Linked DNA regions of Homo sapiens: all the other regions are linked to region 3. Evidence: promoter capture Hi-C in 16 types of primary human blood cells and fetal thymus (Javierre and others, 2016). All regions are on one chromosome and are shown on one strand. The core of a region is centred on a gene start or on the middle of the fragment in contact, and the rest is flanking DNA. Distances in the headings are between cores, read along the strand shown. Region 1 overlaps LOC105371466 (a long non-coding RNA gene). Region 2 has its middle 22 kb from the start of ITLN1. Region 3 holds the start of SLAMF1 (signaling lymphocytic activation molecule family member 1).

Region 1 (4,907 bases), core at 681-3,180, 270 kb before region 3:
TGAAGTGATCCTGCTGCCTTGGCCTCCTAAAATACTGGGATTACAGGCATGAATCACCATGCCCAGCTATGGGTTTTCATCTTTGATGAACAAAGAATGACATAAGCAGCATGAAGGGCTTGAGTTAGACCTAGGGAGGAGCTTCCATACAGGAGGACTTGACATCTTCCCCTTCCCATGTGAGTTAAATGACATGTGCTCTGCCCAGAGCCTGGCAAAAGGGAAGGCTGAACTGAGATCAGGGAGAACTTCAGGACTCCAAAGGGCCAGAGTTGGACGGGAACACAGAAATCACTGAATCCAACAACTTTATTTCAAAGGCAGGTAAACTACTGTCCAGACAGGTGACGTGACTCACCCATGATGATGGCCTGGGATTAGAAGCCAAGTCTTCCATTCCTGGCCCTGAGAGCTTTGTGCTTCTCTGTGCTCAGCAGCCACAGTCCTCTGGGCTCCCTGCCTCCCTCTCTTGTCTCTTTGCCTGGGCTGGAGAGCAGAAGGGCTTAGGGGGCCCCTCCCCTCAGGGATCCCTGAGGGCCTGGAGGTGGTGAGAGGGGGAAGCTGCAGCTGTTCTACTGCTAGCTCCGAATTTCTTCAGATAATCAATTGGCCTCGCTGCCGCTGTCGCTCTTGTTGCTCTTCTCACTCTGGGAAGGACAGGAGAAGGAGGTGGAGAGTGGGAAGAGGAGGGAGCAGGGGACCAGGCACTGGGGGAGGAGGGAGAGGGCAGGGAGATGGAAGTCCCTGGGCTGAGGGGAAAGTGAAAGCTTTGGGGCTAGCAGATAGGGAGGATGGGGAAAAGGGATTGTTAGAAGAGGATCTGCTCTGCATCCCTCATTCCACATCCCTCTAAACCCAACTCGTGGGTGGTGGGGTGGGGGAGGGGCAGTTAGGAGGACCCCAGAATGGGACTCTTGCACTTCACCCCTGCTTCCTTACTCCCCTTGCCAAGTATCCCATGCATGGCCATAGCTCCCCCAGCTGTCCATGCCCTCTTCCAGTCCTAGTGACCACAGGTGCCTGACCCTCCAGTCCTGTCTTCATCAACGCCCTGTCCTGTAACTCAGCAAACCCATCACCAGTGACAGAGCAGAAGTCAAGGCCCCAGGGGCTGGGTGGGGGTTGCCTAAAATCTCTCTCTCTCTCTCTCTCTCTCTCTCTCTCACACACACACACACACACACGCGCACACACACACACTGTCATAGGCTGCCAGGCATATGGCCTCTTTGTGCCCACACAATGGAGGCCCTGTCTGTGCCCTTTCCCAAGTCTGGGCACAGTGTGGAGGGTGCTCCGCTTCCTCATTCCACCCACCTCCCTTCCCTCTCCACCCCCAGTGCAGGCCCTGTCTTCTTTGCCTTTGCTTCTTCCTCTTTCTGGAAAGCCCTTTCTACCACCCAGTTCCTTTATCTTTCTGCTTTCTTCTTGTGTTCTTTCCTGAGCTTTTGACCTCTCATTGGATGAGGATTATGGGCAGAAGAAAGAGGCTCACAGTGCTGGGATGTCAGCGCAGGGAGGAGAAGGGAGCAAGCAGAGATGAGCCTGAAAGGCTGAGAGGGAGTGGAAGAAGGGAGGCAGTGGTGGCAGTGCAGCAACACTGTGCTAGAGGGGAGAAAGCCCACACCCGGCAGCCAGAGGTCCCGTGTCCCTGCTCTGTCTCCACCTTTCCCCTTTGTGCCACAGTGAGCAAACCGCATGCCCTCCCTGAGCAACAGCTTTTTCATATGGAAAGCAGGAAAGACAACAAGACCCACCGGGGTGTGATGAGGATTAAATGAGATCATCGTGAAAGTGTTCAACACCGGAAACGCTCATCAGATGCTATCTCAGGGGCAGTAAGTAGCAGGGTCAACTGTACTGTCATACAGTTTGTGCACTTTACAAAGCACCAGGCTAAGGGCAGTGCAGGGGCCTGACACCCAACCCCACTTCTACTAGACCAGCTGTGCACCAGGATGCAAGCATCCCCTGAGAGGTGGCCCTGGAACTGAGCCCCTCATGTGGGTTCCTGAGCATTGGTCAGGAGTCCAGATGAAAACTCCGAAGTCCTGACCACCTTGGGAACCAAGACAGAATGGAAAGGGACAAGAGGCTAAGGGGAATGTCTCTCCCTGAGGGGGAAATTCCTGAGCTTAGTCTTCTCTGAGCAAATAGACAATCCATGAGATCTACTAAACTAAGGATGGAGAAACTGCAGCTGAGGAGAAGAAGGGGGCTGAAGAAGCAGAAAAAAAAGAGGGAGACATGGATCGAGGGTGTGATCAGAGCAATGTGTTGGTCTGAGGACCCTTTTCTGGTTCCCTCGTCCTCCATTCCCTCCCTTCAGCAAGTTGAAGGCTGATTTGATTATTGCTTGTTGAACACTGTCCCCTGCTGGCTACTAGCAGAAACATTTTCCCTCTTCCCTATCCCTAGCTAGGAGCTGCTGAGAGCCTGAAAAAGAGAAGAAATGACCTGACTGGGGACAAAGGACGAAGGAATTGCAATTCTGCAATCTGGAATTCTCTACTTGTCAGAGATTTCTGGAAGGTGAAGGAGGCTTGAAGGCTGACTAGGGGTAAACAGAGTTTAGAATTCATAGGTGGTTCATTTACATATATTATGGCCTATAATTTTCAGATTGATTTTTTTCTGGTCTGTGTCTGTTTCATGTATTGTGTGTCTGTGTTATGTGTGTGTTCTGTATCTGGGCGTGCTTACCTGATTCTGTGGTTTTTGAACACGTGTATATCTGTGTACTTTTTTGTGTGTGTGCTCTTTTTAATATAGGAGTCTGAGTGACAGCTGGCAGGTATGGAGCAAGGAGAGGGAGCTGTCGAATTTCCTCTTTCCTAGAAGCCCGTTCTCCCCTTGAAGTTTTACCTTTGTCTCCCAGCTCCATGAGCTATAACCTATGGCTATTTATAGGTTACAGGTTTTGTTCTGGCTCCTGCCCCTCTTTGGACATCCCAAGCTCAGAGCCTTGATTCGCTCTAACCTGGGACTCTTGGGCCTCCCAAGCAGGGTCTCCAGTGTGGTTCCCAAGTGAGAATCTCTACTGTCTATGTCCCTTTTATCCTTTCTAGCATTAAACTCCAGCCTCCTTCTTTTATAAGCTTGTAGCTACCTCTTTCATTGGTTGATTTCAATTTATTCAGTGCAGCATGCCTTTATGGAATAGCCAATGTATACCGGGCACTGTTCTGGATTCTGAAATACAGGATCAGGCCCTCCCCACCACCTACTTGGGAGGGAGTATGGGAGACAGGCATGTAAACATATCAGTTTCCCAACAGTGAGAGGCATCTGCAAGGAAGCGAGTGATTACCTGAGAGAGGGTGTTGGTGAGGAAGGCAGCCGGTAAACTCTGAGCTGGGTTTTGAAGACCATGAGATACGTACAGTGAATTCTGTGGTGTGCTCCACTCACTTCTCCAGCTGTGGAAGTGTTGACTCACAGCTGAGTCCCTCTCCAGGAATTGCCTTTGGAGGAAGAAAGCCGCCTTGCCTGAGGTGTTGCTCTTTCCCTAGGGCAATGACTGGTTGATGTGGGGTTACAAAGTTATCCCAGCTTGAGAGCCCCCATGGGATGGACAGAAGCCTCTGTTGCCATTGCATTGCTTTTCAGTTTCTCTCTCGGCTTATTGCAGCTTCCCTCACACCTCACAGGTGTTCTCAAGAACTCTCCTGCTGGCACTCTCCTGTATACGATCTCAGAGTTCAGGAATCCACTTCCCAGGGAACCCCACCTACAAAGGAAAGGCACTGTAGGTATGAAGGCATGGAACCCTGAGAAGCTCTGGTGAGCAAGAGCACACTATTAGCAGTGTGGTATTGTTGGGACATTAAGTGCAAGGGGCTGGTGGGACAGGAAAGTGACGGAATGGTCTGGAGAGGTAAGCAGGGGCCAGGTCAGGAGAAGCATAATAGGGAGTGTGTGCTTGGCCACACAGTGATGGGAAACCAATGAACATTCTCTAGTGGGGTAGATAAACACTATCATCAGATGTACACTTTAGAAATATCACTTTCAGAACATTTCTTTCTTTCTTTCTTTCTTTCTTTCTTTTTTTTTTTTTTAAGAGAGAGTCTTGCTCTGTCACCCAGGCTGGAGTGCAGTGGTGCAATCTCGGTTCACTGTAACCTCTGCCTCTGGGTTCAAGTCATTCTCCTGCCTCAGCCTCCTAAGTAGCTGGGATTATAGGTGTGCACCAACACACCCGGCTAATTTTTTATTTATTTATTTTTTGAGATGGAGTCTTGCTCTGTCGCCAGGCTGAAGTACAGTGGGGTGATCTTGGCTCACTGCAATCACCGTCTCCTGGGTTCAAGCAATTCCCCTGCCTCAGCCTCTCAAGTAGCTGGGAGCACAGGCGGGCACCACCACGCCCGACTAATTTTTTGTACTTTAGTAGAGACGGGGTTTCACCCTGTTGGGCCAGGCTGGTCTCGATCTCCTGACCTCAAATGATCTGCCTGCCTCGGCCTCCCAAAGTGCTGGGATTAGAGGTGAGAGCCACCACGCCTGGCCACTTTTAGGACATTTCTGATCATAGCTGCGTAAAGGTAAGCTCTGTGCAGGGAACAGTTTTAGGAGGCTATCGCAAAGTCAGCTGCAAGAAGCTGAGGGTCTGTATTTAGGTAGCGGCAGTAGGAATGGGGAAGGGAGGACAGATTTAGGAAGCTATTTAAATGGTAGATTCAACAGGATGTCGTGATTCATTAAATGTGGCAGGCTAGAGGAGAACTCCCAGGTTTCTGGCCTGGGAGCCTGGGTGTACAGTGGTGCTACTTTCCAAAGTAGCACACGTAGGAAGAGGAACGTTGTGGAGAATTGTGGTGGAGATGGTGGCAGTAAGGTGGTGTAATAAGGACAAACTGAATGAAAGCCCCCCAGGAGCCTTCCCGTGGAGCTGCCCAGAAGGA
Region 2 (4,298 bases), core at 873-3,372, 260 kb after region 3:
GGGCTATCATGGGTCAGGAATTGACCAAAGAGCAGAAAGTATTTTTTAAAATGGTGCAACAATTACTTAAGGCTATCCACTGCACCTTAGAGTCTGAAGATTTGCATCAGCTTATGCTTTTTATTCAGCAGGAATGCTCTTGGTTCCCTGATCAAGGAACATTAGACTTAGAGTTATGGGAGGAGGTGGATCACTGCCTGAAAACAGGATTTAGGCAGGGCCATTTTACTAAGGTTATCATTTTGACCACCTGGGCCCTGGTACGCTCTGCATTGTACCCTCTTTATATGCCAGATTGCGGTGAGTCAGACTGCCCATTAGCTCCACCTGAAGGGAATTCAGGAGATTTAAAGAAAAACAGGAACCAGAACAACAGGGAGGGGCTCCTCTCCCTACTTCATTCCCTTCCGTAGGGCATAAGGAGGACACTTTCTAGTGATGATGAGGACAGACCGGAGCTTTTTCCTCCCCCAATAGAAAAGCCATTGCCCTCCTTTCCTCCACCCCTAAAAAAATCCACATCTATTGGCCCTGTTCAGGCTACAGTGCCTCCCATCCCCCTGGAGGAGATTGGAGGCCACCCAAGGGATGGACGGTTCTTGGATAAGACCCCCTGTCAGTGAACATCTATATTGTCACGCACGTCCGTGTGAAGAGACCACCAAACAGGCTTATGTGAGCAATAAAGCTTTTTAATCACCTGGGTGCAGGCGGGCTGAGTCTGAAAAGAGAGTCAGCAAAAGGTGGTGGGATTATCATTAGTTCTTATAGGTTTGGGATAGGCATACAAAGTACATTCCCAAGGGCGGGGAGAATATTACAAAGTACCTTCCTAAGGGCAGGGGAGAATATATCATATCAGTTAGGGTGGGGCAGGAACAAATCACAATGGTGGAATGCCATCAGTTTAGCCTATTTTCACTTCTTTTGTGGATCTTCAGTTGCTTCAGGCCATCTGGATGTATACGTGCAGGTCACAGGGGATATGTTGGCTTAGCTTGGGCTCAGAGGCCTGACATATATGATCAGGTGAACGCGTTCTCAGTGACGACTCCTCATCAAACTTCCCTAGTAGAGGGGTGCCTCCAGGAGGGACTTAAAAAGGGAGACTCTTAGGCACTTTTTGGCGCATTCCCTGTCATTGTTCAAAATGATAGGAGACGGCATGAGAGTTTGCCTTTTACTGTTTTTAAAGAGATAAAGAAAAGTATCTGTGAAAATGGTGTACATTCACCCTTTACCCAGGGGATGATTGAGGCTCTGGGAAATGGCTATAAGATGACTCCGCATGATTGGAAAACTTTAGTAAAAGTTTTGGTTTCAGCTGCAGAATATACTGTGCGGTGGAGTGAGTACAGTGATCTATCCATGCAGCAGCCCTTGCAAAATTTGGATAATAATATCCCAACACAGCTTGATATGCTATTGGGACCAGGTCCTTTTGCTTGAGCTCAGGCTCAAGCTCAAATAAACAGCCATCTATTTCCACAATGCTTGCAGCTAGCAATACAGGCATAGAAGAGGATACCCACGGGACAATCCCAGGGTTCCTTTATAACAGTTAAACAGAGTGCCACAGAAACATTCCTTTATAACAGTTAAACAGAGTGCCACAGAAACATACGTTGAATTTATCAACTGATTGCAAGCTGCACGTAGTGACCAACATCACATCAGCAGAGCTATAAAAAAACTCTGCTATTCAAATCCACTGCACACGGAATAAATCAGAAGATAAAATAAAAGTCTGTCAAAATTCATACAACTTGTGAGTGAGTTCTAAAAAGCTTAGTTTAGAAGGGCTAGAGAAAGAAAAACTTCAATGGGGCCCAAATCAGAATGCTTGTAATGAAACCCAGTCTCCAGGAAAACAACACTCACATGTGTTCAATCATATAAAATGATTTGTAACATCTCTAATTAGGTGAATCAACTAGAAACAAACTCACTAGTCAAAATAAATTTTTAAAGTATCTTGTAACCTATATTTTACTTTTCTGAGTATATTAAGGGGCTGCCAGCCCAGAGATATACTTAAGATATAGGCAAAAAATCCCCAGGCCTTTACACAAAAGATTTCCACTTTCAAACCAATGTCAGTGGACATTGATAAAAGTATAGCAGCATCCTCTACTAAGGTGATTTCATTTATTCCCTGCAACCCACTAATAAATATCCCACTTCTCCCAAACAGTATTTAAGCTCCTAGCTAAGCAAAAAACTATTGTCTATTAGCATTCAACTGAAGAAAAGAAAGATAAAATATTGTCTTGTTTCCATCACTGTATTACTTGGGCAACATAATTACATAATTCTTACCCTAAGAGAAAGCCTTCATATTTTTTTAAAAGTCTTTTCAAATAAAATCTTCTTATGTTTTAAACAATATAAAATACAAACTTTCACTTTATTTATTGTAAATTATAAAGAGATCATTGTCTTAATATATTGTTAGCTTCAAGCTTCCTAAAATATAAAAACATTGTTGTCTAAAGTCACATATTAACACTAAGCTCCGTGGTTTACAGAATCTCCTACATTTTTGCAAGCTCAAGCTGATCATTCCTTTTTTTATCAGAACAACCACAGTCTTAAACAACAGTTTTATTTGGCGCTCACTCAAGCTCGCATGATTATTAAAACCTGTCCTGACTGCCAATGGCATTCGCTCTCCCCTTTTTCGTTAGGACTTGGTGCCAACCCACGAGGTCTGGTGCCTAATGCTATCTGGCAAACTGATATTACTCAGCATCCACCCTTTAGATGCTTCAAATTTCTCCACGTTACTGTAGACACTTATACAGGCCTGAAATATGCTACTCCTCAGACTACAGAAAAAACTAAAGATGCAATTGCTCATCTTTTTAAATCTATTATGACTTTAGGCCTTCCACAAATTACAAAAACTGATAATAGACATTGCTGTCTTAGTGCTCGATTTACATATGCATTTACAACTGTGGCACATACAACACAAGACTGGCATTCCTTATAACTCAACCAGTCAGGCCAATGTTGAGCGAGCTCATCAAACTCTTAAAGTATATCTTAACAAACAAAAAAGGGGGAATATTGGGCTTTCTCCTCGAGAACAGGTAGGAGACAACTGAACCCCTCCTGATGATGAAAGACCTGTCGTTGGAGAATCGACCAGCAATGATAGCGATGACTCGGAAGGCATCTGACATTACCTGAGGGCAGCTAAAGAAATTGGATCAACAGGCAACTATCCAGCTTGTTGCCATGGGAGCCCCTGCAATTGCAGAGAATTGGTTTCTTATGTATCTGGCAGTAATTGGGGGAGCTTTTGAGAAAGTAAGACAGACATGGATGCTGGGGTGGCTGGTGATTCTCATCCTTTGCCAAGTGGGATCAGCTCAAGAACATGTTTACTGGAATCATATTCTGAATCCCACTGTTGGAAATGTTATTATGTGGTGGGATGCTGACCCGCCTTTGTCATCTAATGATACTTCTTGGATGGGAGGTCGATGGATGCCCCTGTCTTACCCCTTAACTGAAAATTTGGGATGGATTAAACTCAATGACTCCTTGACTTTATTGTCTAGCAACCCCCTTCTTTGTTTTTCTACAATAGCCCATGATAAGCACATTACTCTTATTCCTCTGGAGTATCTTTACTGTCACCTCAAAAGGGATGCCAAGCCCGCAAACTTGACCTTTATTTCTGCTGTTACCATTAATCTCACTAAGGTCTCTAATGAAGCTACACAAGTGCCTAGTCTTCTTATATGCTGTCTGAGAAGGGACTGGCAATGTAAGTTTGAGGCTGTCCAGTGTGAACCCCATGCAGACAACCTGCGCCACGACAAGGGCCTCTGCTTAATAATGGCACCTTACTTGATTGGGGTCCCCATGCTAATCTTATGTCTGCAAATCAGACTATTGGATTTGGGAGTCCTCCAATAGTTCCATCACCTGGTCAGAGTATGGGCTTTCAGGACCAATATTACAACTAAAAGGGAAGCAAGCTTTAAGCCCTGCTCATACCCAAATTTGGAGACTAGGTCTTCCCTTTTTTGAATGCGTTGTTTTGTATGGTGATTACATTTACAGCAGTGGCAACTATACCCTCTCCTTGCACAATAATGTTACTGATACAGTCCTGATTTGTACTACACACCCCTAGATAATTTTGTCTGGGCAGGGTATTCCTAACATAGAACAGAATCAATCCTTATATAGTATTACTTTCTCTTCCAGTAGTTGGTACGCTACATGCTTGTCTCATCAAAATGTTACATAGTTAAATATAACCTATGGCATGATCCTAAAAT
Region 3 (4,665 bases), core at 1,978-4,477:
AACTATAGTCACCGTACTGATCTATCAAACACGAAGACCTATACATTTGGAAAGACACACAAGAAACTGGTCACAGTGGTTGCCTCCAGCATGAGGTATGGAAGGGAAATTAGTCTTCACTAAATACTCTTGTGTACTGTTGAAGTTTCATAGACATGACATGTTTTATAGATGTGATAATCAATAAACAAACTAGTTAACAAAAAAAAATTAAATGAACATTTGCATGATGAAAAAAAGTTTTCATTTTCCAAATTCCAGGTCAAATACTTCTTATATGCCCTCTACGTTCTTCTGTGATTTTTATCAGTCTCTCACCTTTTGGACATTTCTATACTTCAATTTATTCCAATTCAATTCAACTCATATTTTTCAATTATAGATAGCACATTCTAATTTTTACCATGGGACCTGGATACAAATTTTGGCATTCTCTCCACCCCTGCTTCCCAAACATAGGCTTGTCCAGTTTTACTCATTGAGGCCTCTGGAGTCAGGCAGCTATGTGAGCGCAGAGAAATTGCTAAACTACTCTGTGCCCCTTTCCTCATTTATAAAGTTGTAATGGTACCAATAATACATACATTTCTTATAGGGTTGGTGTGAAAATGAAATGACTGACACACATAAAGCATTTAGAACAGTGCCTGGTATATGGCAAGTATGCAGTATATACCAGTATTATTCACTCAACAAATATTTGTGGACAGGCTCTCAGTACAGACACAGTGTCAGGTGCTGGGCAGTGGCTGTTGTTCATTTTGTTTTCCCCACACCTTGCACCCTTGCACAGTGGCTGCCACATCATGTGTCCTTAATAGTTGCTGAATGGGATCATTCAAAGTCAAATCTATGGATTAAACCAATTAGCCCTGATACTCTGATTTCCAGTCCAGTGAGGGAGACAGTGAAAGTGACAGCATCACATCACAGTATTAATATTTTTGAGAAATAGAAGTGCCTAGATTGACATCTTGGGATAGAATGGGCCACTGAACACGCAAGGTTAGGCCAAGTCTAGAACCCACGCACTTGTCCCTCACCTTCCCCCAAAGTGTGTGAAGGGGGTGCAGAGGAACTGCATGGAGGAATAAAAAAAACTCATTGACATAAGGTCATCAATTATAACAAATGTACCATCCTGGTGGGGGATATTGATAATAGGGGAGGCTATGTATGTATGGGGCAGAGGGCATATGGGAAATCTCTGTTCTTTCTGCCCAACTTTGCTGTGAACCTAAAACTGCTCTAAAAAATAAAGTCTATTAAAACAAATCTCATCGGGGGAAATGAAAAATTCACTTTACTTGGGGAAGGGACATGTGGACTTTTTGATTTTTACAATTCTGACTGGGAATTAGAAGTTGAGCTGAGTAGAAATGAGAATGGGAGTGGATGCCAGTTTTACAAGAATCAAGCTTCTTGCTTGGGCAAATCTGTCATGACTAACCTGCCCCATTTGCAAAGCATTTCTGTCTGGGTTTTATTGGGGCTTCACAAAAGGGTGTGTATTTAAAAATAAAAACACTGAAAAACTTTTGTGAAGATTCAAAGAAGAAAACATGCAATGAAGTGAGCAGCCTCCGATTGGATAGACTTGCCTTGTGGGGCTGGGTTGCTTCTCCCTGACCGGCGACTTCCAAAGCCTCAATAAGACGAGCTATTGGTCAGCAGTGCCTAAGATGCTATGGGCCAGGCTGGCCAAGAGGCTAGCAAGCACAGAGATGGAAAAGTCCAGTTCACAGTTCAGCACCATCACTCCATCACACCTTACAGTCACCAAGAGGTGCTCCAGAAATGGTGCAGTCACAAATTGGTTGCAACAACGGAGGCTTGGCTTTCCCTGTGACCACTTAAAGTGGCTCGATTTGGTTTTCTGAGCCCCGAGCTCAGTTCTTCCTCCCCTAGACCTTGGGAAGTACGAGCCATGGATCTGCAGATTCCAAAAGAAAGTGGGCTGAGCAAGCCCTGTTCGTCTGGCTGTCTGGTAAAAGACACATCCATTGTGCAGCACCCCCACATCCCTGGCATATCACGGTGCTTTTCCTGGAAAAGTCCATATTGGATTTGCGGTCTTGAAAACCCCAAGCTTAAAACACCCTGGGCCTCAGGATTTCCCCCCGTGTCCGTAATGCCACCTCTTCTACTCCAGGCTACCTCCCACAGTCTAAACAAATAAGCAGAAGGAGATTCTCACCCCACTCACACAGGCAGTCCAAAGTCCACTTCTTGCTTGGCTTTTTCTTTCTCAAATACCTTTTCTCATAGCCCTGATACTTCTAAACAGAAAGCAATAGCCTGCCTTGGGAAGAAGATAGACAGAAAGACAGGAACAGAGTCCAGATCCAAAGGTAGCTCTTGTCTGGCCTTCCTGCTGGAGCTACTCTCTGAGGGTTCCCAATTTGCATTTCCCACATACTGTAACCAGCCCTAGCCTTCAGAAATCCCAACTTCTTCCCTCTTGCTTTCTTGGACCTTCTCTTCCAAGAAAATACACACCAGTATGACCGCACTGTGGCCACTGCTGGTTCTCAGCCAAAAGCCTGGAGTTTTCACTTCTACTCTCTCTTCCCACTCTAGCCAATGCTTTCTGTTGACCCATGCTCCTGGTTTGTCAGCCTGCATGTGCACAGATTCCCTCCCAGGGCAGGGATGTAGGGCAAATCTTCTCCCAGAGCTCAGTCCATCCAGCTCAGTCTCTCTAGGCTGGGTCTTTGCCAGAAGATGCCCATGTAAAACCAACCACTCAAGCAAGACTTCTACCAGGGCCTGTCACCCTAAGACTGGTCAGAAAAGTGACTGGAGCCTTTGGCTTAGAGCCCCTCATTTCCTTGGAAACTGGGGTTGGTGGGGCTGAGTCTTGGAAACCCAAGGGCCCAGGAACTTATAATGTTCCTTCCTCTTTGAAAGAGGCAGTTGAAACTGACAGCCAGTCCCTAAGGAAGAGTGACCAAACACAATACCCAGCCCTGCACCTTCTCTCCATCCACGAAGATACGCTGATTCCTGGCAGCTAACATGGGACTCAAACCATCAGGCAGATGAACACTCACCTGTTCCGTAGCTTGCCCCAAAAGCCAGGGAGAGAAACAGCACGAAGGTCAAGGAGAGGAGCCCCTTGGGATCCATCAGCCAATGAGGAGAAGGAAGGGATCCTGGCCGGAGCCTGGCAGCTGCTCACAGATGCCAGGCAGAAGCAAGCTTCGTGTCATGCAGCAGAGGCTGTCTGATTTATGTATCAGGAACCAGCAGGTTCCTGAACCCGCTTCCTGTATCACTGGGACTTTTTCTGCTTGTGTCTTGAGGATTGCTCATCTCCCATGAGGCTTTAAATCACTTTTTTGTTCTCAAGAAGCAGGCTTCTCAAGAAGCCAGGCACTTAGCCTATGGGAGCCAGGAAAGGGGGTGTGTAGTCACCTCGGCCAAAACCCGGCTTTGGGCAGAAACATGCGCCCCAGCTTCTTTCCTTAGCTGTCTCCAGGAACCGGATGTTGCAGATTCTCTGAGCAGTTCTCTCCGGTAAGTCTTCTTGGATTGCAAAGAAAAGATGTTTCATTGGATCACTCCTCAAATTTGGCAGTTCACAGCTGAACTTAGATAACTGCATTTTGATGAGCTAATAGACCTCTTACTTCTGTTTTATTTCATAATTTCAGATGACACCTCAACATGCAGTCTGGTGCAGGTGCCACTGTCACACAGAGATGGGAAGGGCATGTGCGGGTCACTTGGAAGAAACCCTGTGACCCCGATGAGTGCAATGTGGTATAATTTAGTAGCCCATGCTCCTAGTTTGTCTTCTTGCATGTGTGTGGATTCCCTCCCAGGCAGGGATGTAGGACAAATCTATCCCAGAGCTCCATCCTTCCAGCTCAGTCTCCTTGTTGTGTGTGTGTTTTCTCCTCTAATTTTTAACGTCTGTGGGTACATAGTAGATATACATATATGTGTGTGTGTGTGTGTGTGTGTGTGTGTGTGTGTGTGTGTGTGTATGTATATATATATGTATGGGGTATGCATATATTTGTATGGGGTATATGAGATATGTTGATAGAGGCATGCAATATGTAATAATCACACAGGGTAAATGGGATATCCATCACCTCAAATATTTATCCTTTGTGTTACAAACAGTGCAATTATATTTTTATTTTTAAATGTGCAATTAAATTATTATTGACTATAGTCACACTGTTGTATTATCAAATACTAGTTCTTATTCATTCTTTCTATTTTTTTGTACCCATTAACCATCCCCACTTCTTCCCCAACCCCCACTACCCTTCAGCCTCTGGTAACCATCCTTCTACTCTCTATGCCCACAAGTTCAATTGTTTTAATTTTTACCTCTCACAAGCAAGTGAGAACGTGCAAAGTTTGTCTGTCTGTGCCTGGCTTATTTCACGTAACATAATGATCTTCAATTCCATCCATGTCATTGTGAATGACAGGATCTAATTCTTTTTTAGCTGAATAGTACTTCATTGTGTATATGTACCACATTTTCTTTATCCACTCATCGGTGATAGACGCTTAGGTCGCTTCCAACCTTGGCTATTGTGAATAGTGCTGTAATAAACATGGGAGTACAGATATCTCTTCAATATACTGATTTCTTTTCTTTTAGGTGTATACCTACCAGTGAGATTGTGGATCATATGGTAG

The links. Contacts are between HindIII fragments. The CHiCAGO score rates a contact against its expected background, and 5 or more counts as called.
Region 1: a fragment that was not itself captured here is called in contact with the fragment with the promoter of SLAMF1 in region 3 in 3 of 17 cell types (activated CD4 T cells, fetal thymus and naive B cells); the score reaches 6.6 in activated CD4 T cells.
Region 2: a fragment that was not itself captured here is called in contact with the fragment with the promoter of SLAMF1 in region 3 in 7 of 17 cell types (total B cells, total CD8 T cells, naive CD8 T cells and 4 more); the score reaches 8.0 in total B cells.

Annotation. Positions count from the first base shown.
Region 1 is chr1:160,374,331-160,379,237 of GRCh38, forward strand. It overlaps LOC105371466 (a long non-coding RNA gene), which reads right to left. Exons shown (of 4, transcript XR_007066686.1): 4 at 3,085-3,730. Among named protein-coding and RNA genes, the nearest start is that of NHLH1, 9.7 kb to the left of the region's middle. RefSeq lists an enhancer at 1,832-1,881. The HindIII fragment of the contact is 2,331 bases long and covers 766-3,096 here.
Region 2 is chr1:160,905,478-160,909,775 of GRCh38, forward strand. No RefSeq gene overlaps it. Among named protein-coding and RNA genes, the nearest start is that of ITLN1, 22 kb to the left of the region's middle. The HindIII fragment of the contact is 675 bases long and covers 1,786-2,460 here.
Region 3 is chr1:160,643,817-160,648,481 of GRCh38, forward strand. It overlaps SLAMF1 (signaling lymphocytic activation molecule family member 1), which reads right to left and starts at 3,228. Exons shown (of 7, transcript NM_003037.5): 1 at 3,054-3,228. The coding sequence starts at 3,129. It overlaps LOC107985220 (a long non-coding RNA gene), which reads left to right and starts at 3,193. Exons shown (of 2, transcript XR_001738266.2): 1 at 3,193-3,519; 2 at 3,657-4,665. RefSeq lists enhancers at 3,060-3,269, 3,310-3,359. The HindIII fragment of the contact is 11,196 bases long and covers 3,200-4,665 here.